Regions from separate parts of the Homo sapiens genome. Here regions 2, 3, 4 and 5 are each linked to region 1. Evidence: promoter capture Hi-C in 16 types of primary human blood cells and fetal thymus (Javierre and others, 2016). All regions are on one chromosome and are shown on one strand. Each heading gives the region's core, a stretch centred on a gene start or on the middle of the fragment in contact. The rest is flanking DNA. Distances are from core to core; before and after follow the strand shown.

Evidence for each region. The method cuts DNA at HindIII sites, captures the fragments that hold promoters and counts their contacts. A CHiCAGO score of 5 or more calls a contact.
Region 2: a fragment that was not itself captured here is called in contact with the fragment with the promoter of IGSF9B in region 1 in 4 of 17 cell types (naive CD8 T cells, total CD4 T cells, activated CD4 T cells and 1 more); the score reaches 6.8 in naive CD8 T cells.
Region 3: a contact is called between a fragment that was not itself captured here and the fragment with the promoter of IGSF9B in region 1, in 7 of 17 cell types (activated CD4 T cells, naive CD8 T cells, naive CD4 T cells and 4 more). The highest score is 14.1, in activated CD4 T cells.
Region 4: a fragment that was not itself captured here is called in contact with the fragment with the promoter of IGSF9B in region 1 in 4 of 17 cell types (naive CD4 T cells, naive CD8 T cells, non-activated CD4 T cells and 1 more); the score reaches 6.2 in naive CD4 T cells.
Region 5: a contact is called between a fragment that was not itself captured here and the fragment with the promoter of IGSF9B in region 1, in 1 of 17 cell types (total CD4 T cells). The highest score is 6.6, in total CD4 T cells.

What each region holds. Positions count from the first base shown.
Region 1 is chr11:133,953,485-133,959,075 of GRCh38, reverse strand. IGSF9B (immunoglobulin superfamily member 9B) reads left to right here and starts at 2,108. Exons shown (of 20, transcript NM_001277285.4): 1 at 2,108-2,385. The coding sequence starts at 2,322. RefSeq lists a silencer at 1,930-2,279. The HindIII fragment of the contact is 2,603 bases long and covers 1,223-3,825 here.
Region 2 is chr11:134,194,877-134,200,467 of GRCh38, reverse strand. The region is part of intron 13 of NCAPD3 (non-SMC condensin II complex subunit D3); the gene reads left to right. Among named protein-coding and RNA genes, the nearest start is that of NCAPD3, 26 kb to the left of the region's middle. RefSeq lists a silencer at 2,178-2,378. The HindIII fragment of the contact is 695 bases long and covers 2,611-3,305 here.
Region 3 is chr11:134,176,511-134,182,101 of GRCh38, reverse strand. NCAPD3 (non-SMC condensin II complex subunit D3) reads left to right here. Exons shown (of 35, transcript NM_015261.3): 20 at 918-1,025; 21 at 3,166-3,280; 22 at 3,361-3,468; 23 at 4,645-4,883. Among named protein-coding and RNA genes, the nearest start is that of SNORD153, 28 kb to the right of the region's middle. RefSeq lists an enhancer at 4,867-5,591. The HindIII fragment of the contact is 429 bases long and covers 1,845-2,273 here.
Region 4 is chr11:134,160,350-134,165,940 of GRCh38, reverse strand. It overlaps NCAPD3 (non-SMC condensin II complex subunit D3), which reads left to right. Exons shown (of 35, transcript NM_015261.3): 28 at 4,050-4,160. Among named protein-coding and RNA genes, the nearest start is that of SNORD153, 12 kb to the right of the region's middle. The HindIII fragment of the contact is 667 bases long and covers 1,946-2,612 here.
Region 5 is chr11:134,095,232-134,100,822 of GRCh38, reverse strand. All of the region lies in intron 1 of JAM3 (junctional adhesion molecule 3), which reads right to left. Among named protein-coding and RNA genes, the nearest start is that of JAM3, 29 kb to the right of the region's middle. The HindIII fragment of the contact is 8,110 bases long and covers 1-5,591 here.

The DNA.
Region 1 (5,591 bases), core at 859-3,358:
CCATTCTGACAGACAGTTCTACTTTCCTAGCAGGAGGCAGAACCCTGAGTAGGACAAATGGATGGCCAGACAAAGCAATCAAGATGGGTGGTGAGAGTGGCTCCATCTTTTTCCTTGCCCTGCAGGCCCCTAGGAGAGGGTTTCTCTGAGACCTGATGTTTCCCACTCCATACCTAACAATGGTGAGGAACTAGGGCCAGGCTTTGTGGATCCGGCACTTTTCTCTAGGCCACAGTTAGCTGCTTAGAGGTTGTGGGAGGAGAAGGATCCTGTTATGACCAATTCTGCAAATGGATTCCAATATGTCTTTACAGTCCCGGGGCCCTGGGAAAGTGTGTAAGTGTGTGTGTATGTATATGTGTGTGTGTGTGTTGGGGGTGGAGTTATTCTGGGTCATGCCACCTGGAAATCACTGCATCAATGAGACCTGGAGATCACTGCATCAATGAGACCTGGAGCAGCTCACTTCATTGTCCCCAGAAAGGCATCTTTGCCCAAGAAGAGAACCAAAATCATGGCTCAGGGAGAGATGGCCCCAAGTTATGCATCTTGAGTGTGTTTGCACAGGTGGAGGGGTGGGTAGGGTAGAAGGTTATTCAACAGTCCTGGTTCTCTGGATCTATCCAGGCCCTCGACCTTTATCCATGTGCTCACTGACTGCTCTGTTGGGGGCCTCTTTCTGCCTCCCAGCTGGCGGTGAGCTAAGAGGCTTCCGGTGTCAGGGAATGCTCCACCTCCGGTGTTCAAGGCCACTTTTTGTGCATGTGTGTGTACCTGTGTGCACGCTTTCCCAGAAGCAAGTCTCCTTCTTGTTGTTTTGGGAGCTTCATGTCCTGGAGCCAGGGCTTTGTGGCTAACGAGTGCTTTGAGAGGATGAAATTCCTGAGCTCTCGCTCGCTGACCCTCTGCCTTCCTTCCTTGGCCAACAGCCCATCCCAGGGAGCGGTGTGATTCTTACCACTGCCTTCACTCCTTGAAAGAACAAACATCTTCACTGCAGCCTCTGAGCGCTGGTGTGAGGTGATTGTTTGTAGTAGATGTTTCCATGACACTCATTTATTTCTTCTGCAAATACAACTGTATTGGGGGAGGGGAAGCAGACAGGCTAGGGTAGGGAGACTGGAACATACGAAGACCTTCCAGTTTCCTATTTACATTCCTCTGTAGGATGAGAAGCTCCTTCCCTTTCCCTGGGTCTCCTCCATCCCAGACTCCTAAAGCTTCCCCCAAACCCATCTTGGTTTCATGCGGCCGAGTCGGGGCTGGGCTCCGAGTAAGGTGGAGAGGGGAGGAACCATGTGCGTGAGGAAGCAGCCTTTATCAGGAGAAGTGGGAAAAAGACCCAACTTTGACTGCTTGGAGTCGGGATTCAGTAATGATGAGCAGCAGTGACCAGCACTGGGGGTGGAGTGTGTGTGCACGAGTGTTCCTGAGGGGTCTGTGGCACTTCGCAGCTGAGCCAATGACTCACTCTAAATCTTAGCGACTTTGAGAGGTCATTTTAGTCATCCCCCGGTCTGCATCACGTTTGGAGGGGGTGGTGCGCTGCTCTGGGGACGTGTCTGGGTGCGGAGGGAGACGGGGTGGGGAGGCGGCGCGTGACCTCTTTGAAAAGATCTCCGGCGAAGGACGTTCCCCGGCTCTCCCGGGCCGCCGGCTCCTGGGTTTCCCCATCATAGAATCAGCATGGTCCTCTCGGGAACTGCTTTTTGCCGGATGGAAACCGGATGTTGGGTTCCATGAGTGGGCGGGGGCTCCACTTCCCTCAGACCTGTCCGGGGTAATTGAGACCCGCCAGGGTCCCGTTAGAAGCTACCATTTCCCTCACCAGAAACTTGCCACGCAGTGTGAGCCGAGAGAGAAGCGGGCAGAGACGCTATACCACCTTCTCCCCGGCAATGCGCATGATTCTGCGGCTCTGTGCTCGCCACACTTCAACGCACCTTGAAATGGGCTCGCCTCCTTCGCGCCGCGACGGGCGGAAGGCTGAGCCAATCGGACCCCCGGCTTGCGGGCGGCGCCCAATAGGCGGGCGGCGGGGGCGGTTCCGGAGGCCCGGCCCGGCTAGGCTTCACCGTGGACCTGGCTGCGCTCCGCCCGGGCGAGTAGTGCAGGTGCCGCTGCGCCGGGGCCGGGGAGGCGCGCGCCGAGCCGAGCGGAGCCTAGGAGGGATGGAGAGCTGGCCACCCGGGCTGCAGGAGCACCGGCGCGGGGCGTAGGCGGCGCGAGGCGGGCGCGAGGCGGGCGCTCGGGCGCGAGGCGCGTGCGGGCGCGGGAGCACTTTGCGATAGGATGAGGCTCCGGGCTGGCGCGGTAGTACTATGATTTGGTATGTGGCCACTTTCATAGCAAGTGTGATCGGCACCCGAGGGCTTGCGGCTGAAGGTGAGTTGAAGTGCGGCGTCCCTCCCCTGCCCCTCCCGGCGCCCTCGGCCCCTCGCGCCCGGCCCCTCGGTTTCCCGGCTCCTTGGCCCCCCGGTTCCCCAGCTCCCCGGCGCGCCTTCCCGCGGGTGAGGCTTGGGCTCCGACGCGGGCCAGGCGGCCCGGGAGCATTGCCGGGGAGGGCCTGGGGGCCGTGGGCTGGAGGGGCGGGCGGGAAGGGGCCAGAGCCCACGGGCTGCCGGGCACTCGGGGAAAGGACGCAGTGGAACCTGGGTCGACTTCGCCCACCACGGGCCCCACGGTGCACACCGGCGCGCCTAGCCCGTCGCCTCCTGCCCGGCGGCCGCCTCCCAGAGCTGCGGGAAACTCTGGCTGCGGGAGTTTGCGGTCTCCGGGCAGGCTGCAGCACGCTAGAGCCCCGCGCCGCGAGGAGCGCCTGCAGGGAGGCGCGACCCGGAGGATCCCTGGGACTGGCGGCACCCGCGTCTAAGGCCCCGGGTTCGCGCGGCCCTGCGGGCGTCCATCGCTCCGCTCGCGCCCCTCCTGCCCACACATCTTGGCAGCTGGAGGTCGGATCCCCCTAGCAGGGGCGCCCGGTGAGAGGAGGATTGATGAGGCCAGCTTCGAGGTGTGTCCGCTTTTGGCTGGACCCCGCCGGCCCCCGCGCCTCTCAGCCGCACCTGGGCCCCGGCCAGGCAAAAGTTCCCCGGGAGCGCGCCGCAGCCGCGCGGGCCCCACGCCGCCCTCCCCAGGCTGCGAGGCAGAGCTGGCTGGGGGCGGCGGCGGGGGAGGGGAGGGGCGGGGAAGGGGGGGTCCCCACGCTGTGAATCCGAGCGGAGGGGGGATTTTCTCTTTCCGCTTTCCTGGGTCTGAGCTGGGGGAGACGCAAGGGGGGAGCCACCGAGTTGGGTGATGCGTGCGTGAGCGCGCGGGCTTTTGCTTTGGAGATGGGCAGAGCGACCTACAAGCCTCTGGGTGGCACCCCCGGCTCTCGGCCCTTGTATGGAAGTGGGAGCGGAGCCTGGAGGGTGCCAGGACTGTGAGCTCAGGGCTGTCAGCGCGCAGACACGACCCGGCTGCGGGCAAGTTCACCAAGCCGGAGGAGATGGCGGCGGGAGAGAACCCGCTGTGGGTGGGAGTCAGCAGGCAGGACTCGCCGACAGAGAACCCTCTCCCAGCGGCATGGGGCGCCGGGTGGGCTGGAGGCGCCTCTCACGGGGTCCCCTCGTCACTCGTCTGTGCAGGGGGGCGTGCTTCAGGAAACTTTCCGGAATGGAATGAATATGTCGCCTCTGCTTCTGAGGGGGGTGGTGGTGTCTGAAAACAGAACGAGCAGAGGGCGAAGCGAAGGGTGATTTTGTTAACTGACATGTTGGTCCGGACGGTTTTAAAACTCTTCATTTGTCAGGTGGGAACACTGAGGCAAGGGTGATGGCGGAAGCTTACGGAACGGGGGGTGGATGTGAGGTGCATCGGGCTGCGCTTGACAGTCTGCCTGTAGCCTCATCCTCTCCCCCATTTCCTTGCCGTCTTCCAATGCCCGCATCCTCCTCCCCTCCCGTTTTTGGTATGTTCCTGCTATGGGACTGTCCCTGAAAGCACAAAAGGATGAGCTGGGATCTTTGAATAGAAAAGAGACGCTGAAGGAAGGCTCTGAAATAGCCTCCGAACCTAAGTCAGGGTGGGCAATGGACTTCTTTGCAAGTTTCAGCCCAGAATAAAGGAATGTGAGTTTATACTGCAGCAACACGCAGAATCGCAAGATAGAAGGAAGGGCTTCCCAAAATTGAAGGCTGCCTGGCATGAAGGTTATGCCCTCTTTCAGGGTGCAGAGGGGTCCTTCTGTCTGGAATGGCTGGACATGTACCCCTGTCTGGAAGCAGAGGGTGACCTTGCTGGTCTTGGGGTCTTTCTTAGCCTCAATTGCTCTGTGTGTGGTAGTTAAGGACCTAGGTCTAGAGCCATATGACTGGGATTCAGATTCTGGCTGTGTCACCTGCCGACCCTGTGACCTTGGACAAATTCTCAACCTCTCTAAATGTCACTTGCTTCAATAGAAAATGTGCCAATAGCATGTACTTTTAGGGTTTTTAGGTGGACATGAGTGTTATAAGGAAACAAAACAACTACCTGTTATATAGTACGTGCTCAGTAAACATTAACATTATTTTCTCAGTGTCCCTGGGATTCCAAGATCCTCCTCAATTTCTTTCCCTTGGGCCATTCAGGGCACTAGGAGCTGAGAATGTGTTGCGGGGAAGTTCAGAAGGCTGCCTGTGTCAGGAAGTAAGACCCCTTTCTGGGCTGACCTTGTCTGGGCAGAACCTCTTGTCCCTGGCATCCCAGGGACACGTGTGCAGGATGTGCGGGCCTCAAAGCTGCTCGGAAGTCCTTTGCAAGGTCTCCAAAGCTGGAGTGTTGTTGGTGGCCAGAGGTTTATGGAAGGACACAGCCCGGGAAGTGAGGGCTTGCAACACACAGCCTCTGGAGAGAGCGGGTGGGCGCCCGCTCGTGTGAGCAGCACCAGCCAGTGTCCACATGCTGCTGAGTCTCCCTGTGAGAGCTCAGCTGTTCCCTGACTGGCAGAGGTGACTTCTGGGGCAGTCCCTCAGCAGGAGGGACTTTGAGATGCCACCCTTAGGATTTGGCCATAGCAGGGGCTGCTCTGGCAGAGGGGGAAAGGGATGATGTTGTGTTGGGACCCGACTCCATCAGCCCTCGGGTGCGGGACAGAGGTTGGAATGGGCTCCTCCTTTTGACTTTGAGTGTGTGTGCCTGGGAGGTGATTAAGGTCAGTGGACAGGTTGGGGAAGTGTGGAGAAGAGAGGGGCTGGAGTGGTACCCAGAACCTGGAAGACAGTGATTGGTGTGCACTCAGTATCTCAGACGGCTGCTGAGCCAGCCCGGGGGAGTTCCTACTCTGTGGGAGGACCCTGGGCCGTGCTTAGCTGATTGTGGACCTTGGATAGGGGAGGAAAGTCCCAGACTTTACTCCCACGGCTGCCTCCTCTGTCTGCCACAGATTCTGTCGTTACATTATCCCTGACTACAGTGTCCCCAAATACAGTGAGGTTCTGACTCAGATCCTGCTGGTAGTTGGGCCATTGCCCTCTACTTTCTACCTGGCCTTGACCTATGCTTCCTTTTGGTAATGAAGATGGGAGGGTGGAGGTTTGGACTCAGAGGTTGCTATCAAGACCCCGTGGTGA
Region 2 (5,591 bases), core at 1,709-4,208, 240 kb before region 1:
GGCTTATTGGCCATATACATACGTTTTCTTTGGAGAAATGTCTATTCAAGCTCTTTGCCCATTTTTTAATTGGGTTATCTTTTATTTTTGAGTTGAAAGAGTTATTTTTATATATATACCTTATCAGATATATGATTTTTAAAGACTTGTCCCAGTCTGTGGGTTGTCTTTTCAAATGGTATTCTATGAGGCACAAAACATTTTAATTTTGATGAAGTCCAATTTATCTTTTTCTTTTTTTACTCATGCTTTTGGTATCACATAGCTAAGAAATCGTTGTGTAATCCAAAGTCACAAAGATTTACTCCTGTGTTTTCTTCTAAGGGTTTTATAGTTTTAGCTCTCACATTTAGGTCTTTGATCAATTTTCAGTTAATTTTTGAATATGGTGTGATATAGGGGGTCCACCTTCACTCCTTTGCATGTGACTATCCAGTTGACATAGCACTGTTTCTTTCAGCCTGTTCCTTCACCTGTGAGTGTCTTGGCACCCTTGTAAAAAAATCACTTGACTGACTTGTATAAGCTCATGAGCTTATTTGTGTGCTCTATATTCTATATTAATGGAATTTTATTTCATTAATCTATATATCTGTCTTTATGTACCACATTGTGTTGATTGCCGTTGCGTTCTAGCGTAGGAGAGGGGAAATAATTTTTTCTTCAGTCCTCATGAGTTCTTCCTCGGGATGGATCCCCATAACAAGACAAACAAGTTTATTAACATGTCTAGTGCGTGTTATGCGGGAGAGATCTCAATGCAAAGTAACTGAGGGCTTAGAACTCCACTTACGTAACACAAAACACCATATCCAAAAAATGCTGGCAGTACAGTACACTGGAGACTCTCTGTTGTCCCCTTTTGATGGGGTGGCTGACGGGGAGCTACTCTTGCTGCCCAGCATCGTGAGAGTGTATCATTCTGCATGTCACTAGCTAGGAAGTGAGCAGAATTCAAAACTCAAAGTATGGTTTGAATGTGCATTGCTGTCACATTATTGCAAAATCAGAAAATCCTAAGTCAGGGACTGCCTGTATGTGGGAGGAAAACAATGGAGTGAGTTTTGTGAATTGCTCTGGGCTGATAAGGGTCCAGAGACCCCGTGTGTAAAGGAGAATTTATATACTGCCCATATAAATAAAGAAAAGGGAAAGGATAGACAGAGCTTTTTCTCTGTTTGCTGCTGCTTGTTAATTGTCTGCTTTAACTGTCTTCCCAGAAATAATTTTTATGTCAGAGTCATATTTTGGTGTTAACATAGTATCCTGTGATAGTCAATTTTAAATCAGGAAGTATGAGTTCTCCTCCTGTCCCTTTGTTCTTTTTTAAAATTAGTTTGGCTATTCTGGGTCCCTTGTATTTCCATATGAATTTTAAGATTAATTGCCAATTTCTGCAAGAAAAAAAAAGCCATCTTGGATTTTGATAGGGATTGATCTGTACATCAGTTTGGGGAGTGTTGCCATGTTCGTTTGTTAATTCCTCTAATCCATGAACACCAGATGTCTTTTTATTTCTTTCGGTCTTTAATTTGTATCAGTGATGTTTTGTAGTTTTCAGTGAACCATTGTTGCTCTTTAAATTTTGTCCTGAGTGTTTTTATTCTTTTCAATAGTATTGCAAATTAAATTGCTCTCTTAATTTCATTTCTGAATTGTTCATTGCTAGTTTTTACAAATTATTTTTGATAATTGATCTTCTGTCCTGCAACCTTGCCAAACTCATTACGAGCTCTAATGATTGTTTTGTGGATTCCTTAGGATTTTCTTGATATAAGAACAAGTCATCTGTAAATAGAGGTAGTTCTACTTCTTCCTCTCCAATCTGGATATCTTTCATTTCTTTTTCTTACCTATTTGTTGACAGAAAGAGTCAAGCTCTGTAAAATATTTGAAGACATTTATTCTGAGCCAAATGTGAGTGACCATGGCCCGTGACACAGCCCTCAGGAGGTCCTGAGAACATGTGCCCAAGGTGGTTGGGTGCAGCTTGGTTTTATACACTTTAGGGAGGCATCAGACATCAATCAGATACGTTTAATAGATACATTGGTTTGGTCCCAAAAGGCAGGGACAAGGTGGGGAGGGTTCCAGCTTATAGGTAGATTTTAAATTTTTCTTGTTGAAAATTGGCTGAGTTTGTCTAAAGAACTGGGTTCAATAGGAAGGAATGTCTGGGTTAAGATAAAGGGTGGTGGAGACTAAAGTTCATTACTGCAGAGGAAGCCTTCAGATAGTAGGCTTCAGAGAGAATAGATTGTAAACGTTTCTTATCAGACTTAAAGACTGTGTTGATGTTAATGCTGGAGGGTATAATGAGGCATGTCTGACCCCCACATCCCGTCATGGTCTGAACCAGTCTTCAGGTTAAATTTTAGAGTGCCCTGGCTGAGGAGGAAGTCCATTCAGATGGTTGGAGAGCCTTAGAATTTTATTTTTGGTTTACAGTCTGTGGAATGATGTTGAAAAGAAGTCAAAGAGTAGACTTCTTTGTCTTTTTTCTTTACTTAGGGGGAAAGCTTTTGGTCTTCACCGCTGAGTACGACGTTAGCTGTGAGGTTTTTAGTATGACTTTCATCAATATGAGGAAGTTTCCTTCCATTTCAAGCTTGCTGAGTTTTTATCATGGAAAGGTGTTGGAATTTGCAAATGCTTTCTCTGCATCTATTTTGAGATGATTGTGTGGTTTTCTTTGTTCTGTTACCATGCTGTAATTTACATTGATTGATTTTTCACAGGTTGACATTTCATTCCTGGGATAAATCCCAAGCATGGTTGTATCTTGCTGGATTTGGTTTGCTGGTATTTTGTTGAGAATTTTGGTGTCATATTCATAAGGAATATTGGTCTGTTGTATTAAGCCATTCTTGCATTGCTATAAAGAAATACGTGGCCAGGCGTGGTGGCTCATGCTTGTAATCCCAGCACTTTGGGAGGCCAAGGCGGATGGATTACTTGAGGTCAGGAGTTCGAGACCAGTCTGGCCAACATGGTGAAACCCCATCTCTACCAAAAATACAAAAATTAGCTGGGCATGGTGGCAGGTGCCTGTAATCTCAGCTACTTAGGAGGCTGAGGCAGGAGAATCACTTGAACCTGGGAGGTAGAGGTTGCAGTGAGCCAATATCATGCGACTGCACTCCATCCTGGGCAGCAGAGTGAGACTCTGTCTCAAAAAAAAAAAAAAAAAAAAAGATGTGAGACTGGGTAATTTATCAGAAAAGAGATTTAATTGGTTCATGGTTCTGCAGGCTGTACAGAAAGTATAGCACTGGCATCTGTTTCTGGGGAGGCTTTAGGAAGCTTAGAATCATAGCAGAAAGCCAAAAGGGAACAGGCGTTTCACATGGTGGGAGCAGGAGAAAGAGTCAGGGGGAAGGTGCCACACACTTTTAAATGACCAGATCTCACAAGAACTCACTCAGTATTGCTGTCCTGAAGACAGCACCAAGCTGCGAGGGATCTGCCACAGTGATCCAAACACCCCTACCAGGCCCCGCCTCCAGCACTGGGTGTTACAGTTCAACATGAGGTTTGGGTGGGGACAAATACTCAAACTATATCCGTTGTTTTCTTGAGATGTTTTGGTTTTGCTATCAGGGTAGTACTCACCTAAGATGAGCTGGAAAGTGTATTCTTTTCTATTTTTTGAAAGAGTTCATGAAGGATTGTTGTTCATTTTTGCTTTAACATTTGTTAGAATTCTCCACTAAGTGTCTGGTCCTTAGGAAGGGGTGTGTGTGTATGTGTGTGTGTAAAGTATTTTTGATTACTAATTTAGTTTCTTTTTCTTTCTTTTCTTTTCTTTTTTTTTTTTTTTTTGAGATGGAGTTTCGCTGTTGTTGTCCAGGCTGGAGTGCAATGGCACAGTCTTGGCTCACTGCAACCTCTGCCTCCCAGCTCAAGCAAATCTCCTGCCTCAGCCTCCTGAGTATCTGGGACTACAAGCACCCGCCCCCACACCCGGCAAATTTTTTTGTATTTTTTGTAGAGATAGGGTTTCACCATGTTGGTCAGGCTGGTCTTGAACTCCTGACCTCAGGTGATCCACCCACCTCGGCCTCCCAAAGAGCTGGCATTACAGGCGTGAGCCACCGCGCCTGGCCACTAATTTAGTTTCTTTACTCGTTACAGGTATATTCAGATTTTCTATTTCTGTTTGAGTCAGTTTCTGTAGTTTGTGTCTTTCTAAAACTTGTCGTTCTAAAAATTTGTTTCTTTTATGTAGGCTACTTAATTTGTTGGCATAAAATTGTTCATAGTATTCCTTTGTAATCCTTTTTATTTATGTAAGGCTAATAGTAGTAATGTCCCTCCTTTCTTGATTTTAGCAATTTCAATTTTCTTTCTTATTTTCTTCGCCAGTCTAGCTAAAGGTGTATTAGTTTTGTTGATCTTATCAAGGAACCTACTTTTAGTTTCATTGATTTTTCTCTATTGTTTTCCATCTTTTATTTTTTAAGCTGCCTTCTTATATATAAGCAGTTCCCAAAGTGTGTTTTGGGAACCCTCAGGGGTCCTTGAAGTAAAAATGAGTGCAGTGTTCATTTGCCTTCCACACTCTGATTTCCTCACGAATGTATATTGGAGTTTTCCAGTGGTCCCATGACTTATCAAATTGCAACAGATTGCAGGTAGAAACAGAGATGAGAATCCTGTTTAATATAAGCCAGATGAGAGATAAGCTGGCTTATATTAAGCCAGACATTTTAAAGTTTGCAAAACTCTAAAACAATGCCATTCTTTTTTTTTAAAATCGGGTCTTGGTGTGTTGCCCAGGCTGGACTCGAACTCCTGGGCTCAGTTGATCCTCTGATCTCAGTCTCCCCAGTAGCTGGGATTATAGGCACATTCCACCACATCCAGCCTTTTCACTATTTTTAGTTTATTTGTTTTGGAAAATATAGTTATTTTTTATGAAAAAGTACTAACAGTAACATATCTTGCTCTTTTAAAATGAATTAATAAATATTTTTACAATTCTCAGTTTAAATTTCTGATTCTAAGTATTAAAAGATATAATCTCTTTAGGGTCCTCAGTAATTTTTAAGAATATAAAGAAGCCTCAAGGCTGGGCGTGGTAGCTCACTCCTATAATTTCACTGCTTTGGGAGGCTGAGTTGGGAGGATCACTTGAGGCTAGGAGTTCGAGACCAGCCTGAGCAACACAGCAAGGTCCTGTCTCTACAGAAAAATAAAAAAAAATTAGCATGGTGGCTCATGCCTGTATTCCTAGCTACTTGGGAGGCTGAGGAGAGAGGATTACTTGAGCCCAGGAATTTGAGATTGCGGTGAGCTATGATTGTACCACTGTACACCACCCTGGGTGACAGAATGAGACCCCTGTCTCTTATAAAAAAATGTCTTCAAGTCAAACATTTTAAAGCTGCTGTTATATATTACCTCATCAAATCTTTAAAATAATCCTATGGGTTAGATACTCCTATTTGTAGCTAAACAAAATGGAAGAGATAAATAATTCATTCACAATTTTAGAGGTAGGGGCTGAGATTTAAAACCAAATTTTTAATATTCCAAAGTTTATATGCATTACAGTGAATACCTAATTATTCACATTTTCTTCTTTTTCC
Region 3 (5,591 bases), core at 810-3,309, 220 kb before region 1:
CTTTGGGCCAATGTTGTGGTCCAGGTTGTGCAATCTATTAAAATTTTAAATGTAATAGTTCTTTTAGAAGTAATAAAGCCAATAGTTTCCAGATACGTTAGGGCAAGTCAGACTAAAAGCATTGCTCATAGTGGTGGCTTGCCAGGCACTGGATGATGGTTAACACAGGTCCCTTCCTAAGGCACTACAGAGGAGTGGGGGAGGTGCGTGCACATCAGCAGATAATTTCAACATAATGTCATCATTCCTAAAATAAAAGTCGGCATCGGGTAACATGGAAGCAAGGGGGTGGAGGCCCTTAGCTCAACCTAGGTGTTTTGGAATGGTTTCCTACAGAAAATGAGGTCCAAGAATTCTAGAATGTGGTTGGGAGCTCTCTCTCTTCCTTGGCATAGAGGAACAGTCCAATGTGCACTAGAAGTCACCCCTTGAAGTTATTGTAATCAGTGAGAGACACGGAACACTTGTCCCTAATGCATAAATTTCAGAAGAGTAGCAACTCTATTTTATGTCTTTAAAAAATGTTTATCACAGTAGTTAATTCATCATCTGTATATGGCAGCAAAACTACAGCTTATTTCTGTATTTTTGGAGGAGCACTACTATTATAGATCTCTTACAAATTACTACATGGGGTCATTGTAAATATTTGGCCTTTTGCTCTTATAGGGCAAATGTAAAAAGAAAGATGATATATACACCGTTCTTTATAAATTCCACTTAGCCAGTACTCATGGCTAGATTGCTTAAATGCATGTCATTGTGGTTTTGGACAAATTGTGGGAAAGAGGAAAGCTAGGAAGCACCCCTACAGCCTATCCATTTGAAGATCATAGTTTCTTCTGAGAACATGGTGTTTCATGGGTAGTCTGGGAGATGTGCGGGGCCCTTCAGAGATGACTTTTGACTTGCCGTAGGAATTGCTGACGCAGGTGTGTGGGGATGTACTCTCCACCTGCGAGCACCGCCTCTCCAACATCGTTCTCAAGGAGAATGGAACAGGGAATATGGACGAAGACCTGTTGGTAAGCGACTGCTTTTCCTAACCATTCTTTTCGCTTCCATTTTATCCGTGAGGTTCTATTAAAGATGACTTTGTCATGTACGCTTTAAATGCTTTTAACAAAAGAGCTGTCTTAGCCTAGAGCTTACTTTCTCTTTTTAGAAGATATTTTTAAATTGATAACCTATTCATTTTTTTCTTATATACTTTTTATCGGTGGGGAAACTCAATGGTATACGCTTCATCTAGTTCAGTCTTATGAGAAGCCTGATTTCAGTAGGGAAAACACAGTATGTGTTGTAAGGTTGGTATAGTCAAGCTTAGAAATGTAAGGTAAGAAATAATAATGTGAGTATAGTGTTTTTGGTTTGTGTGTTTGCTTTTTTAAAAATTTAACATGTCTTCTGAGCTATTTGAACATCAGACAGTAGAACTGGGGAACAGTGCTGAGCAATTGCCAAGTAATGACTGAAATAAAATGAGAGATTTGACAATTCAGAACACAGATGACCTTGGAGCCCCAAGATTGTTTTCTGTGGCACCCCTGCTTTAGAAACTGTAAACGGTGCAAGAAATTCCCGTGAGCCAGGACGGGACAGTGGGCTGATTTCAGTGGCTGACTGGGGATAAGATGTATGGCAGTAATTCTGGTTCCAACATCTGACTTTGTCCAGTAAAGGAAATAATGAGCTGCTTTTTGATGCCATTCAGCACAGATCATTATTTAACCAAAACGGGCCATTTTTCTCATATGTTTAAATTAGTGGAGCACGTCTTTTCTGTGTTCAGTTTCTGCTTGTTGGCCTAGCTCTCCTAACGCCCAGTGATCACCGACCAAGCTTAGATTTGTTCAAAGAGAAGACCATTGAGCCTGAGGCACTACTGTGCACGTGATCAGGAATACAGAGCCTCACTATGGGAACCTGGGTGCTTTAGGTAAGAGCACCAGGGAGTGTAGCACAGGCTTGGCCCAGGGCTTCTAGAGGGTCTTGCTCTTCTCATTTCTGCCCACATTAAGAAAGATGCTTACTATGGTCAGTGAGTCTTGTCCCCACCCCTCCTCCCCCAGGTTTTTTTCAACTGTTAACCGTGTCATCAAAATCTACTCTTCAGTCAAAATATATATGGAGAGGTTTTGCCCTATATACATAGTTTCATTCTTGCTTCTTTAAATAGAACTTAAATATTTTTTTAATGAAGAGATACAGTATTTCAAGATTCTTTTAAACTCATATACTTTGTTATTGGCTTTCTTACCCTAGAATAAGCTTTTATTTGACATTTTACTATTCAGCATCATCCCTTCATTTGGGGTGTAAATAAAAAAAGAACAATATTACTTAGTTGTTAAACTGAATGTTATGAAGAAACACAGCATGGCAGCTGTGAGTAGGTTTTTGATGGGGTCTACATAGAAAAATAATCTGGAGGGCAACTTGAAAATGTGTTTCAAAATGTGAAATAGCTTTATATACTCTTTACCTTGGATTTTACTTCTGAGGAAAGAGAGCAGTATCTAAGGATACACAGGTGTTCACCAGAGCTAATCGAAACATTAGCAAAGGGAAACAGCATCAGTGTTCATTGATACTGGAATAGTGCAGTAAGTTATGACGACAGTCCTAGTTTTGAAATGGCATATACTTATGTAGTCATTAAACATATGTGTCATACATATTGACATGAAACGATGCCTAATATTCAAAGTAATCATTGCAGACTTCAAAATACTATACTTGGTAAGTGTATAAGAAAAGTAAACATAAAGCCACGTGACTATAGAAATACTTTGAAAAAGTTATACACAAAAACAATAATGGTGTCTCTGGGTGGTAGGGTTATAGGTAGATGTATCCCAGTTTACCCAAGATAACCCTAGCGTACACCTATTTTCACAAAATAATTATTAATAGCACCCCCTTTTACTTGCAGATGTGTCTAGATTTAGATGATAAAATTATATGCTTGCCCTAATTTTGGATGAGTTTCATTACATAGTGACTAAGTTTTTACAATAGCCATGTATTTTTATGAAACGAAAACTAGTAACATTGTTTTAAATTTGGGGGATAAAGGAAATACTCCATTGACATGTCCTTAATCTAGCTAGAGTTCACTTTTCTTTTGCCTTATTTTTACTGTAAAACCAATTATCTTTGTAGGTGAAGTACATTTTTACCTTAGGGGATATAGCCCAGCTGTGTCCAGCCAGGGTGGAGAAGCGCATCTTCCTTCTGATTCAGTCCGTCCTGGCTTCGTCTGCTGATGCTGACCACTGTAAGGCATTTGAAATCATACTCTGTAGCACGCATGCCGTTTCAAGGTTCTGTCGGTAACTTTCTCTCCCTTCTTTGCAGCACCATCATCTCAAGGCAGCAGTGAGGCCCCAGCGTCTCAGCCACCCCCCCAGGTCAGAGGTTCTGTCATGCCCTCTGTGATTAGAGCACATGCCATCATTACCTTAGGTAAGAAAAACATGGGAGAATGGGGCTTGACATCGTTCTGTGTGTAGCTGTTGTCTTAAGTAAGCCCAGCCATGGGACTGTGTCAGGGGCTGCGGAGCCTGTCTGTGTCTGCTCTCAGCCATGTGGTTCCTAGAGGTGGCTCTGATCTGAGTGCTGAGCTCTGCATAACTGCGTGCTGGTCATGAGAGCCCTCAGGCTGATAAGTCCTCAAGACTAAGGTACTCTCTAGAGGGTCTAGAGGGAGCTTTTGTTTTTCAGTAGGGTTATGTTAATTTATTACAATTATACCTGTTTCTGTAATTTTTTTTCAATACCTTCACTTGACTTGAATATTCCTGTAATATTTTAATATTCATAATGCAGCCCCACGAAGTCTGTTCTGTGCCGGGCACTGCACTGAGTTCTGGAAATGAAGAAATAAATTTTCCATAAAAGGAAATGGTTTATTTAGTACTTTCCAGAATTGGCTAGATGACTATTTACATATTTCTCCATGAACTCAAATTATTTTTAATCTTGAAAACACTGACCTCTGTGCTGGAAATTGTATTTTGTTTTTTTGTTTTTTTATTTTTCCTTTAGTGTGAGTGTATATTTCATGCTACCTAAGTTATTAATTTTTTTGTAATATTAGTTATTTTTCAAATACCTAAGAATTGCAAAACATTTCCCAGGCACAAAAGAAACATACAAACAAAACTCAGCAGCCTTTTCAACTATGAACAAGAAAGAAAGAAAGAAAGAAAGAAAGGGGACATGCATTCTTTCCTATTTACCCAGCTCAGATTTCAAATTCAGCATGGGTATTTAGCATCTGTAGAGGATATGTATAATCAGGAGTAAAATGTTTCACCTCTCAGGCTTTGCTGATCATTTTCCAGGTAAGGGGATAACTGCGAAATTCAAATGTTGACTTTAAAAGGAAGATGATTTTATTAGTGTAAAGGAACATCCCATAGTATATAACTCCTGGGGAGTTTATTTCTCCTTAGGTATTTTTATTCGACTATTCAAGATGGGTCTGTCTGCCTTTAGTTTTTTGTTGTTTGTGATTGTGGGCATGATGTTTTAACTTTGATGAAATAGAAGCCATTAGCAAGATGTATCTGGAGAAAATTTAGGAATGGAATTAGGATTTAGAATACAGTTGAGACATCTTCCTGTCTTCTGTGCCAGGTAAGCTGTGCTTACAGCACGAGGATCTGGCAAAGAAGAGCATCCCAGCCCTGGTGCGAGAGCTCGAGGTGTGTGAGGACGTGGCTGTCCGCAACAACGTCATCATTGTAATGTGCGATCTCTGCATTCGCTACACCATCATGGTGGACAAGTATATTCCCAACATCTCCATGTGTCTGAAGGATTCCGACCCATTCATCCGGAAGCAGACACTCATCTTGCTTACCAATCTCTTGCAGGTGCGTAGGGGGGTTCAATCTGTCCTTTCCCCTTCACCATTGCTTCTGGTTTAAGGGAATATTTGAGTAGCATAGGAAATGTGCTTGCTTTGTAGTAGAATCCAAAAATAATTGTCTCATCTCTGGTCTGGAGTTTTACTCTTCTGATGTTTAGCACAACCTTCTAAACGGCGTTACTTGTGAATGTTCATTTTGGGACTTTGTTCAGACATCCTGTCAAGCAGTGAGAAGTTTCATTTTGAAAATAAGTACCATGTAGAGAAAAGCATATTCAGTAGACAAGTAGTTCTAGTTTGAATTCTGTTATTCTTTTTTAACTTGGACAAGTCCACATTTCTGAGAGGTAACTTCTTCCTTCGTCAAATGGGGATCATGGTGTTCGCGCTGGGCTCTGCAAGTCCAGTGGGACGTTTCCGTGTGCGGAAAAACCTAGTGAACTATAGAGCTCTGCAGAGCGTTAGATATTTTTATACACACTGAGAGCCCATGTTTGGCCTATAATGGGGAGAACACCTTTCACTTAGGTTGTATGTCTGTCCTGGTATGTTCTGTATGCTCATCTTTTCATGTATTACGAACCGTATTATAAATAGAGGGTGGCACCATCCCTCTAATGCCATGTGCTTTGAGTCATTTTTCTCCTGTGGTAGAAGGGTGATGTTGTTCTGCACATACACTTCTCGGCACTACATTCCGACGGTTTGGAAG
Region 4 (5,591 bases), core at 1,030-3,529, 210 kb before region 1:
GAGTGTGCTGCTCCCCCAAGCTCATCTCACTAGTGAGTGTGCCCCTCCCCCAAGCTCATCTCACTAGTGAGTGTGCAGCTCCCCTAAGCTCATCTCACGAGTGTGCGCCTCCCCCAAGCTCATCTCACAAGTGAGTGTGCATCTCCCCTAAGCTCCTCTCACGAGTGTGTACCTCCCCCAAGCTCATCTCACAAGTGAGTGTGCAGCTCCCCTAAGCTCATCTCACGAGTGTGCGCCTCCCCCAAGCTCATCTCACAAATGAGTATGCTGCTCCCCTGAGCTCATCTCACGAGTGTGGGCCTCCCCTAAGCTCATCTCACGAGTGTGCGCCTCCCCCAAGCTCATCTCACTAGTGTGCCCCTCCCCCAAGCTCATCTCACAAGTGAGTGTGCTGCTCCCCTAAGCTCATCTCACAAGTGAGTGTGCTGCTCCCGTAAGCTCATCTCACAAGTGTGCCACTCCCCCAAGCTCATCTCATGAGTGTGCCACTCCCCTAAGCTCATCTCACGAGTGTGCTTCTTCCCCTAAGCTCATCTCAGAAGTGTGCCCCTTCCCCGAAGCTTATCTCACGAGTGCGCCCTTCCCAAGCTCATGAGTGTGCCCCTCCACTTAAGCTCATGTCACAAGTGAGTGTGCAGCTTCCCTAAGTTCATCTCACAAGCGAGTGTGCAGCTCCCCCTCAGCTTATCTCACAAGTGAGCGTGCTGCTCCCCTAAGCTCATCTCACAAGTGTGCCGCTCCCCCAAGCTCATCTCACAAGTGTGCAGCTCCTCCTCAGCTCATCTCACAAGTGAGTGTGCTGCTCCCCTAAGCTCATCTCACAAGTGAGTGTGCAGCTCCCGCAAGCTCATTTCACAAGTGAGTGTGCCGCTCCCCCTCAGCTAATCTAAGTGTGTGCAGCTCCTCTAAGCTCATCTCACAAGTGGGTGTGCAGCTTCCCTAAGTTTGTGTCACAAGTGAGCATGCCACTCCCCTAAGCTTATGTCACAAGTGAGTGTGCCCCTCCCCCTAAGCTCATCTCACAAGTGAGTGTGCAGCTCCCCCTAAGCTCATGTCACAAGTGAGTATGTAGCTCCCTCAAGCTCATGTCACACGTGAGTGTTCAGCTCCCCTAAGGTCATTTCATGAGTGTGAAGTTCCCCTAAGTTCATTTCACGAGTGTGCAGCTCCCCCAAGCTCATGTCACAAGTGAGTGTGAAGCTCCCTAAACTCATGTCGCAAGTGAGTGTACAGCTCCCCTAAGCTTATTTTACAAGTGAGTGTGCAGCTCCCCCAAGCTCATGTCACAAGTGATTATGCGGCTCCCTCAAGCTCATGTCACAAGTGAGTGTGCAGCTCCCCTAAGCTCATGTCACAAGTGAGTGTGCAGCTCCCCTAAGCTCATTTCACAAGTGAGTGTCCCACTCTTCTCACCATCTACTGGCTTCCGTGTTCTCCCTGGAATCCTGGTGCCATGCTCTGGTGCTGACTTCTTTCTTACTGATGGCTTTAACTCTTGCCAGATGGTGACAATTCTCAAACCTGTTTCCCACTCCAGCATTTCTCATGAGCCTGAGCTCAGGTCCCCCTGCTGCCAGGACGTGCTCCGGGTGTCTCTGACTTACTCTGTCAAAACTCCCTCAGTCATCTCTTCTTTCTGCTCTTCATCTCCTCTTTCTCCCACAGTTTATGGTGCTCTTGCAGACTGGAGTCTGGTGTGTCAGGCTGAGGCTTTTGTTGGCAGGAAGTGTAGAATTTGGATCTGAATGACTGGGGCAGAGCTTGGCTGCCACAGGCCTCTGCAGGCCTGTGTTTTCCTCCTAGCCTGGATTGCCAATGTGTATTTCCCACCTGGCCTCTGGAGGCTTTTGACTCCAAGGATATAGACTCTGATCATATCTTGCCACAAGATCCTGCCTGTTTTCTCTTACCAATCTATCTCTCTAGTTCTGACCTTATTTAAGCTTATCCCATTTCCATGGTTTCCTTACCACCCTTTCTGTTTCTGGTTTCTTTCTGTCACAGGCCATGTACCACCTTGCTGCCAGAGCAGTCTTTCTTTCTTTTTCTTTTTTTTTTTTTTTTTTTTTGAGACAGAATCTCACTGCGTCGCCCAGGCTGGAGTGCAGTGGCGCGATCTCAGCTCACTGCAAGCTCCGCCTCCCAGGTTCACGCCATTCTCCTGCCTCAGCCTCCCGAGTAGCTGGGACTACAGGCCCCTGCCACTGTGCCTGGCTAACTTTTTTTTTTTTTTTTTTTTTGAGACACAGTATCACACTGTTGCCCAGGCTGGAGTGCAGTGGTACGATCTCTGCTCAGTGCAAGCTCTGCCCCCCTGGGTTCATGCCATTCTCCTGCCTCAGCCTCCCTAGTAGCTGGGACTACAGGCACCAGCCACCACGGCCGGCTAGTTTTTTTGTATTTTTAGTAGAGATGGGGTTTCACAGTGTTTGCCAGGATGGTCTCAATCTCCTGATCTCGTGATCTGCCCGCCTCGGCCTTCCAAAGTGCTGGGATTACAGGCATGAGCCACCACACCCAGCCCAGCAGTCTTTCTTAAGTACAAATTTGATCATTTTATTATATCTGAAACAGACTAAAGGCAGGTTGACTGTGAGGGGTGGCAGGAAGCTTTTGGGTGATAGATGGTGAGTGGTCTGTAGTGCTGGTTATTCCATATAGACTTTTGTCAAAGCTCATGGAAGTGTTTGTTTAAAATGGGTAAATTTATTACATATGTTATACTTCACTAGTGAAATCTTTAAAAACTATGCTGGTGGCTTCCTGTCATCTTCTGAATAAACCCTGATTCTTCTTTTTCAAGGTAAACAAGAACTTCTGGTGTGCCTTCCACCTTTCCCATACCTCCCTCCATCCTCACCTCTAACCTCTCCACTTCAAATTGCCATCTGCACCTCAGTTGCGAGCTGCCCCCTACTCGTGTGCTCTTGCCTCTGGGTCTAAAGTCTGCAGCGCCCTCACCCACCCATCCTCCCTTCTCCACACATCCTCAGGATCATCCATCAGATGGCCATGCACTCCTTAGGCATCCCATCTCCATACCTAAATTCCCTAACACCCTGCCACTTAACACCTCTTCCCTTGAGACACACACTTTCTAGAAGTGGCTGGAGGGCAGGGATGCTTAGCTTCATTTTGCATCCTCAGAGGGTTAGCTCTTTGCCTGGACAGAGAAGGTGCTTGATAATACTTGTCAAGTGAATGCATGGAAGCCACTTCTTAAGACTATTCCTGAACATAACATCTGCTCACATCTGGGTTTATTAAATTGCTTATTTCTCTACTTGTTGTCCTTCTGTTTCAGGAACTCTGATAAGACTTTTTAGAAATGAGTAGTTTACAAGGAAGAAACATACACTAGTGACTTTAAATGAGAAGGAAAAGAGTAGTTTCAGCTTCAGGAGGATAAATCTTGCATATGTGGGCTACTATAGTGCTTTTTTTTTAATTTAAAGAGATTCACTGGAGAATATTTGTGGTTAGTGATCATTCAAGGTAAAGTGTGAAGACTTGGTCAAATCAGGTACTATATATATAAATTCATAGTATTTTGTAGATGTGTACACAGAGAGAGAGACAGAGCTGGCTGTCTTCATGCTTAGCCATTTTTAGACCATTGTCCCTTCACCAGCAGGAATACGAAGTGTCCCTCTGGGTAGCCAGAACGAGCTGACTTCTGTTCCAAGGGGAGGGTGTTGAATTGAGGACTGAAGGTGGAGCAAGAGCCAAGGTCCCTCAGGGTCTTCTGTGGAGATTTGGGGCTTTTGTCAAAAGCTACTCAACATGTTTCTAATTCTTTTTCCCCATTTAGAATATATGAGTAGTATTTGTCCCCACCCTATCTTACAAAGCCTTCAGAGTGTTTTGAGGTAATGCTTACAAAGTCTCCCAGAGAAAAGCAGAGGTCCTCTACATCCAGTATCATAATGAAAAGCAAAAATAAACTTACATAGTGTGGTAGGGTGGCTCTACTCAAAGAACTAGATCAAGGAGAGGCCTGTCTTTCAGAAGTTCATACATCTAAAACATGTCTTTGTTTGTGTTACCAGGTTCAGAAGAGGAATTTCATAGAAAATATTATTCCAATTATCATCTCCCTGAAGACTGTGCTGGAGAAAAATAAGATCCCAGCTTTGCGGGAACTCATGCACTATCTCAGGGTAAGGGTGGAGCCTGTGCTTTTGTGGTTGTTGTCCTACCAGTTCATTACTTAGGATCTTCTGCCAGTTATGACAGTGCAGGCAATCCGTGAATGATTAGAACCCCAAATTCTGCAAACCCAACATTACCTTGGTAACTGCTGTGGAGCTAGGGGTTGGCTGTGGGTTCCACCAAAGCCGCTCTTTCCCTTGGATGTGCAGCCAGGGCCGTGAAGAGCCGGCCCACTGTGCCAAGCACGTCTTCCCTTAATGGAGTTCAAGTCCATCTGGAAAACTTTCCCAGCTGGGGTCAAGAACACAGTCATCTTCGTTCATGCTGCTTGGGGGTAAGGTGAAAGTGAGTCTTCGGGTTTGATTTCAGGGTGCTTACCTTTTGCACTGACTCAGATTCACAAGGTCAGGAAATAACTGCCCTGCAGGAGCTGCCTTCGGAGCTGCCATCACCAGGCTGAATTCTTTGTCAAGCAAGGGGACCATGAGGAGCTCAGTCGGAGCAAACCCAGGATGTGTTGACTTGCAGGGCGGACCTAAGTGGGGCCTCAGACCTTTCTTGCAAAATCTTTTACTAAGAAATAAATGCAACATAGTTTTTCTTTAATTCAGCAGTTATAGCTCTGTTCACATTATGTGTTTTTCTTCCTCAAAAAAATGCTACAATTTTTTTTCCAATAAAGGCCTCAACAAAAATTACATTGAATATAAATTTTCAAATAGCTTTTTATACTAGGAAGCCAAGGTAGGAAAGATAGTCTCATTGTATGATAAAAATAAAAACTTCCAAATATTCTTGTATTTATTGCCTGACTTTAGACCCTAGAAAGGAAAAAAAAAAACAAAAACAGAGCTTTGATCCTACATAGACTACTTAAACACTTAAGAAAAATAAGCCTTCCTCCTGCTTGTGAGCACACACACAGGATGGCCACACGTTGCTTGTTGTCAGTAGCTTGAGGGAGTCTCTTCATTGGCCTGTGGAACCCACTCCTAGTGGCAGCTGGAAAAGTGCATGGATTCCTTCTCTTTGTTGAGACTTCCCTCCCAGTTGGAACTGCAGTGTCTTTTTCTCCCTATTACTGTTAGGTGGAATGATTCTTTCTCTTAGCAAAGTGGTCTTGCCCCTGGCACCCCTCTTTAAGACCTAAGAATGTTTTTCCCTAGGTATGAGAAAAGGTTTTCTGTAAAATCTTCAGAAGAAGACACAAAGATGGGATTTGAGCCTTAGTTGGAATCCCCTGAGAGCCAATGGGGAGGCTAATGTAGACAGATGAGCAGCTTTTAGATCCATGCATCCTGGGACTTGCTCCAGAGGCTGTGTCTGAGCATGTCTTTCTCCCATTGGGAACCTGGGAGAGATTGCCCATTAACTGCCACATAGCCAGGATGCTTCCTAAGAGAGAGAACTGTTAGTTACTCACATATTTTTCTGCTTGT
Region 5 (5,591 bases), core at 907-3,406, 140 kb before region 1:
TTGAAGTCTATCTCTACTGCTTATCAAGTGTTTCTGGCTTGGATGTTCACCAATCTTTCTGTTTTCTCATCCATACGATGGGGATAATTATAATACCTTTCTCCTCCAGTTGTAAGAGTAAGAGAGCATACGTAAAGTGCTGAGTACAGGACCTGACGCAGAGAATGCATTCACATGGTATCAGCCACTATTAGAGAACTGCTTTCTAGGTGCTGAGATTTCAGTGGTGTACAGACCCAAGGATGCCCTCAAGGAGCTCACTAGCAGTTGGGAAACAGGACTCAGATATATAAATACAGTGGTAACTCAAAAGTGGTCTTAAAGAGAAGGAGAGTCTAATTAGGGATTTTAAAAATCTGCTATAACCCATTCAATTTTTAGCTCCCCAAGGGATTTTCCTCACCATCTGGGCCATCAATGCAAGCGAGTTTGAAAAGCCCTCATAATTTTCCTATATCACACCTCCTCCTCAGCAAGAAAGGCTCTGTGGGTGGAAAGCAGCAAAGAACACTGTATGTTATGCAGAAAGCAATCGTTCCTCAGAAGACACAGGGCTCTGCAGAGCAGATGAGCCACAGAAACTTGTTTGGATCAGAAAAATGGGATCATTTCACTGAAGACCTAGAGATAGGAACTGACCACTATTTTTTTTTTAAGGAGGAAAGGGGGATTCACCTCAAAGTACTTTTCTAATCAGAAACAGAATTTGAGAAGAATTTAACATCTTAATTAAAGATATAATGTCACTCTCCCATGTCATGAGATTTAACTTTCATCAAAGGAGAGGTCTAACATTAAAGTCAGAAGTGACTTAAAAAATAGCACACATTGACTTAAAAGTATATTTTGGGTGACATTATTGGAAAATCTCCACTGAGCAAAGCAGAAAATGATGAGGTTAGAAAAATAAAGGAAGCAAGCCGGGCGCGGTGGCTCACGCCTGTAATCCCAGCACTTTGGGAGGCCAAGGCAGGCGGATGACGAGGTCTGGAGTTCGAGACCAGCCTGACCAACATGGTGAAACCCCGTCTCTACTAAAAATTCAAAAATTAGCCAGGCGTGGTGGCGCACACCTGTAATCCCAGCTACTCAGGAGGCTGAGGCAGAAGAATTGCTTGAGACCAAGAGGTGGAGGTTGCAGTGACCCAAGATCGCACCATTGCACTCCAGCCTGGGCGGGTGACAGAGCGAGATTCTGTCCCTAAATAAATAAACAAATAAATAGAAAAATACAGGAGGCAAAGGGCAGAAATCTTGAAAGAAACATAAAAATCAAGTACAGCACAACTTGCCTTACAAATGCAGTACAGTTAATTACAGATGACAAATACTGTCTTATCCTCAATACCACCATCAGAGAGAGGGCGAGACAGTGAGAAAAGGATCTAAATGGGTCCCTCAAATCCCCTTCTAAGTAGTGAGGAGTAGGAGAGAAAAAGAAAATGAAGCAAATAGAAACAGATTTCACCCAACTTGTTGGGACAACTCTGAAATCTGTTCCTGGGCCTGCCTTTCCCAGGCCAAGAGCTGCTTGCCCAGGCTTTTCCCTGAAACCTTCATTTTACAATTACCTCATTCCTCCCCCATGCAACCTGGTAGTATTATTTTTATTTTTATTTTTTGAAATAGGGTCTCACCCTGTCACTGAGGCTGGAGTACAGTGGCATGATCACAGCTCACTGCAGCCTCGAAACCCCAGGCTCAGGTAATCCTCCCACTTCAGCCTCCCAAGCATACAAGGACTACAGGCATGCACCACCACACATGGCTAATTTTTGTATTTTTTGCAGAGATGGGATTTCATCATATTTCCCAGGCTGGTCTTGAACTCCTGGGCTCAAGCAATCTGCCCACCTTGGCCTCCCAAGGTGCTGGGACTACAGGTGGTGAGCCACCACGCCTCTCCCTAGTTGCATTTAAATGAAGGCTTTCTGGAGACTGGTGTAACCCAAAGGTCTTTCTCTAGGCTGGAGTATCAGTGTGAATGTTAGTGGGAAACATGCTAGCTGAAGGAGTGCTTACTGAGCTATCCCTCACAAGTATCAGCAGGTGGAGCTCCACCTGCAAGCTAGCTCTGAAATCACCCTTAGGAAGTGCAGTATACCTCAAAATCAGGCCCAGAAAAAGAAGATACAATGCTGCTATTTGTCTAATTCATGAGTTCAGTGTACTTTGACAATGTCCTTGTTATGATGCAACAAGGATTTCTCTCTGCCATTTTAGCTAAGGCGAACATATAAGGAAGACAACTGACCCAACTACAGAGAATGAGTATCTATACTTGCCCCGACACTAATGGTTCTGACTTTAGATACATACTATTTCTACCTGGCACAGGTAGAAATAGTCTTGCTGTCCTTCACAATTGATTAAAACTAATTTTGCAAATCCCAAATTATCTCACGTGAACTTTCTAATGAGGTACATTTGGTTTTGATTATTGTGCTTTTTCCAAGAACTAGCTTTTTTTAAATTAAAAGACCTCTTTCAAAACAGAAGATTTCAGTTAATTTGGCATTGCTCTTAGTTTTCCTCTCTGAAGTTGAACTTTTGTGTCCACTCCTTCCCTAAAAAGCAGTCCATTTGTAAACTAAGTTTTCTGGATATAGGTGAGCTATATACATATGCATGCACAGTAAAAGGAATGGCTAGCTCTTCTTCCCCTGGAGAGCAGAGCTTGGGTGACACTTTAGCACGATGCCCTGGGTATACACTCAATCAATACTGACTAGGCCCAGGAGATGGATCTGATCCACATTTTTAGGGGAACTAAGCAGAAAAGGAGATGTTTCCTGCGTGCTTCATAAAGTATATAGGTTTTTCACTGACTGAAAATGATTAGAATATAGTCCTCACAATTTTATAAGCACTAAATTTTCAAGAACTGAAGGGCCAGAGTCCTTAATGTCATAAACTCAATATCTTACAGTGCAAAGTGTGTGTATATAAATATATATATACATATATATAAAAGAAAATTAAGAATAGACTTTAAATTTAAAAATCTGAAGATCACTCTTTTAAACTACTTTCCATGATCTGTAGAATTTATAAAGTGGCAACTTGTAATATAAAAATAAATCAAGAAAACATTATCCTGAAGTAAACATTATTTGGTCAGAAATACAGCAATTGTTAGTTTAAATGAAACATAATTTTAAATTGTTTTTAATGCTTTGCAACTTGAATTTTCCATTCCCTATAATGCCTCCCTTCTCCATTAGTAGAAAAAAACCGAGAGCTGACTACACAACCAGAAGTCAGCCTGCTCCTCAAACCCAGTATCAATAAGATGTGAGAAGAAATGTCCCTGCCAAAGACATTAAGTTGCATCACTAATGCTCCAAAGAGGTTCATCAAATGATTCCAGAGGTACTTGCGAATTTCACCGAATCTCAAATGAAGGAGTCAATACAACCTGTTCCTGAGCAAGTGCTGTAGAAGAGTGGCCAGCTGGGATTAATCTGTAGGCAAGGCGCCCTGAAATGCAGAACAGCAACCACAGACACTAAACACTGTTTCCAAAATTTGCCAACTTTCCTAGTACTCACTTAAGAAATTCCCTCTTAGAAATTGTTTCTAAGGAAAGTTCAAACTATTGAGGGAAGAGGATGGTAAAGAGTAATCAAAACACATTCACTATTGCCATTCCTCTCTCATGGTGTTTCCCCTCACCCTAAGCAGCTTGATGGGATGCGGGGGATGGGGTGTGGAGGGGACAAGAAAAAGGCTTTTCTGTATTATATATGACAAAGGGACTTCTGGAGGGCAGTGACTACATTCCAGCCCTCTTCCACAACCCCAAAACACACCACCACTGCACTCTCTCTGGGTAGTCCCCTAACAGTTCTACAAAGTGCCACATGTTAGCAAAATGTGGGCATACAGCTAATATTTAATGGTAATAATAAACCAAATTAAAGATACTAGATTTGCTAGATTTGGTGAATTATGAGAAAGCACAAACTGAGGAGTCCTTTATTAACTGGTACAGCATAGGTAAAGAATAATTCTGGCCAGTATCTACCCAAGGAAAGAAGAATCCAATCGTGTTCATTACTCATTAACTGAGCACACACCCCAATACAACAAAGAAGTCAGTTCAAAGCAAACCATAGCTGGAAACGTCAAAAGAAAACCATTCCTTGCTTGCAGGAAGGGAAAATGCAGAACTAGCTTTTAGATAATAGAAATGAGACTTCAGAGACTGCCTTTCCTTGGGTGAAGAGCAGGTGATTAGAGTCCCTAGTAAACATCTGCCCAAACAACTGGCCCCTGGATTTGAGAAGAAATTAAAATAGAGGAAATAACATAACATAATAAAACACTACTATGTACTGGCTATGAAGTACGATAAAGTGAAAGAAAGAACATACAAGCCCTTGCCTTATTGTTTGTCTCAACCAGATCCATGGTGCCAATCCAGACCCAGGCCTTCTGGATGGAAGTGAACAGACCAAGAAGATGATCAGAGAATCCAAACCCTTACCTATTTATACTAAACTGAAAGCTCACTCCAAGGATGTCAGTTCATTACATAAATGCCTTCTACACGGGCTGGGTGTGGTGGCTCACGCCTGTAATCCCAGGCCGAGGCAGGAGGATCACTTGAAGCCAGGAGTTCGAGACCAGAGACTGGGCAACATGGAGAAACCCCGTCTCTACTAAAAATACAAAACTCAGGCAGGTGTAGTGGCGCGCACCTGTCATCCCAGCTACTTGGGAGGATGAGGCATGAGAATCACCTGAACCCAGGAGGTGGAGGTTGCAATGGGCCAAGATCGCACTACTGCACTCTAGCCTGGGTGAGAGTAAGGCTCCATCTCAAAAAAACAAATAAATAAATAAAATGCATGGCAACTGACATCATGTACATCAACATTTGAGACACAGTGGGTTAGAGGGCTGTATGTGTCCACTGAGTGTTTGCAAGTCAAGGACAAAAACATTTAGAAACCTGTCTGAATCTTAGATGACAACATTTAAGATGTTTGTTATGTTTAAGATGTCTGGTATACTCAGTTTCTTCCTAAGATGGCGAAAAAGTAGCCCCTATTTAGTAAGTGGTCATGTAGCAAGTTAACAGCACACTCGTAACTGAGTACTTCCGTAGTGCTTTAACCTAGACTCTTTTGTTTCTATTTGATTTGCTTGATTTTGTATTTAATATTAGAACAAATCTTTTTTTTTTTTTTGACAGAGTCTCATTCTGTCGCCAGGCTGGAGTGCAGTGGCGCGATCTCGGCTCACTACAACCTCCGACTCCCAGGTTCAAGTGATTCTCCTGCCTGAGCCTCCTGAATAGTTGGGATTATAGGCATGTGCCACCACAACCAGTTAATTTTTTGTATTTTTAGTAGAAATGGGGTTTCACCATGTTGGCCAGGATGGTCTCGATCTCCTGACCTCGTGATCTGCCTGCCTCAGCCTCCCAAAGTGCTGGGATTATAGGCGTGAGCCACTGCGCTGGGCCTATTAGAACAAATCTTAGTCAAAAGACTTCATGTGCCAATAAAAAAAAAAGAGTTTTCCATATTTGCATTAGTACATGCAAACAGATCTTTAGAAGGTATTCCTAACAGGTGTATTTC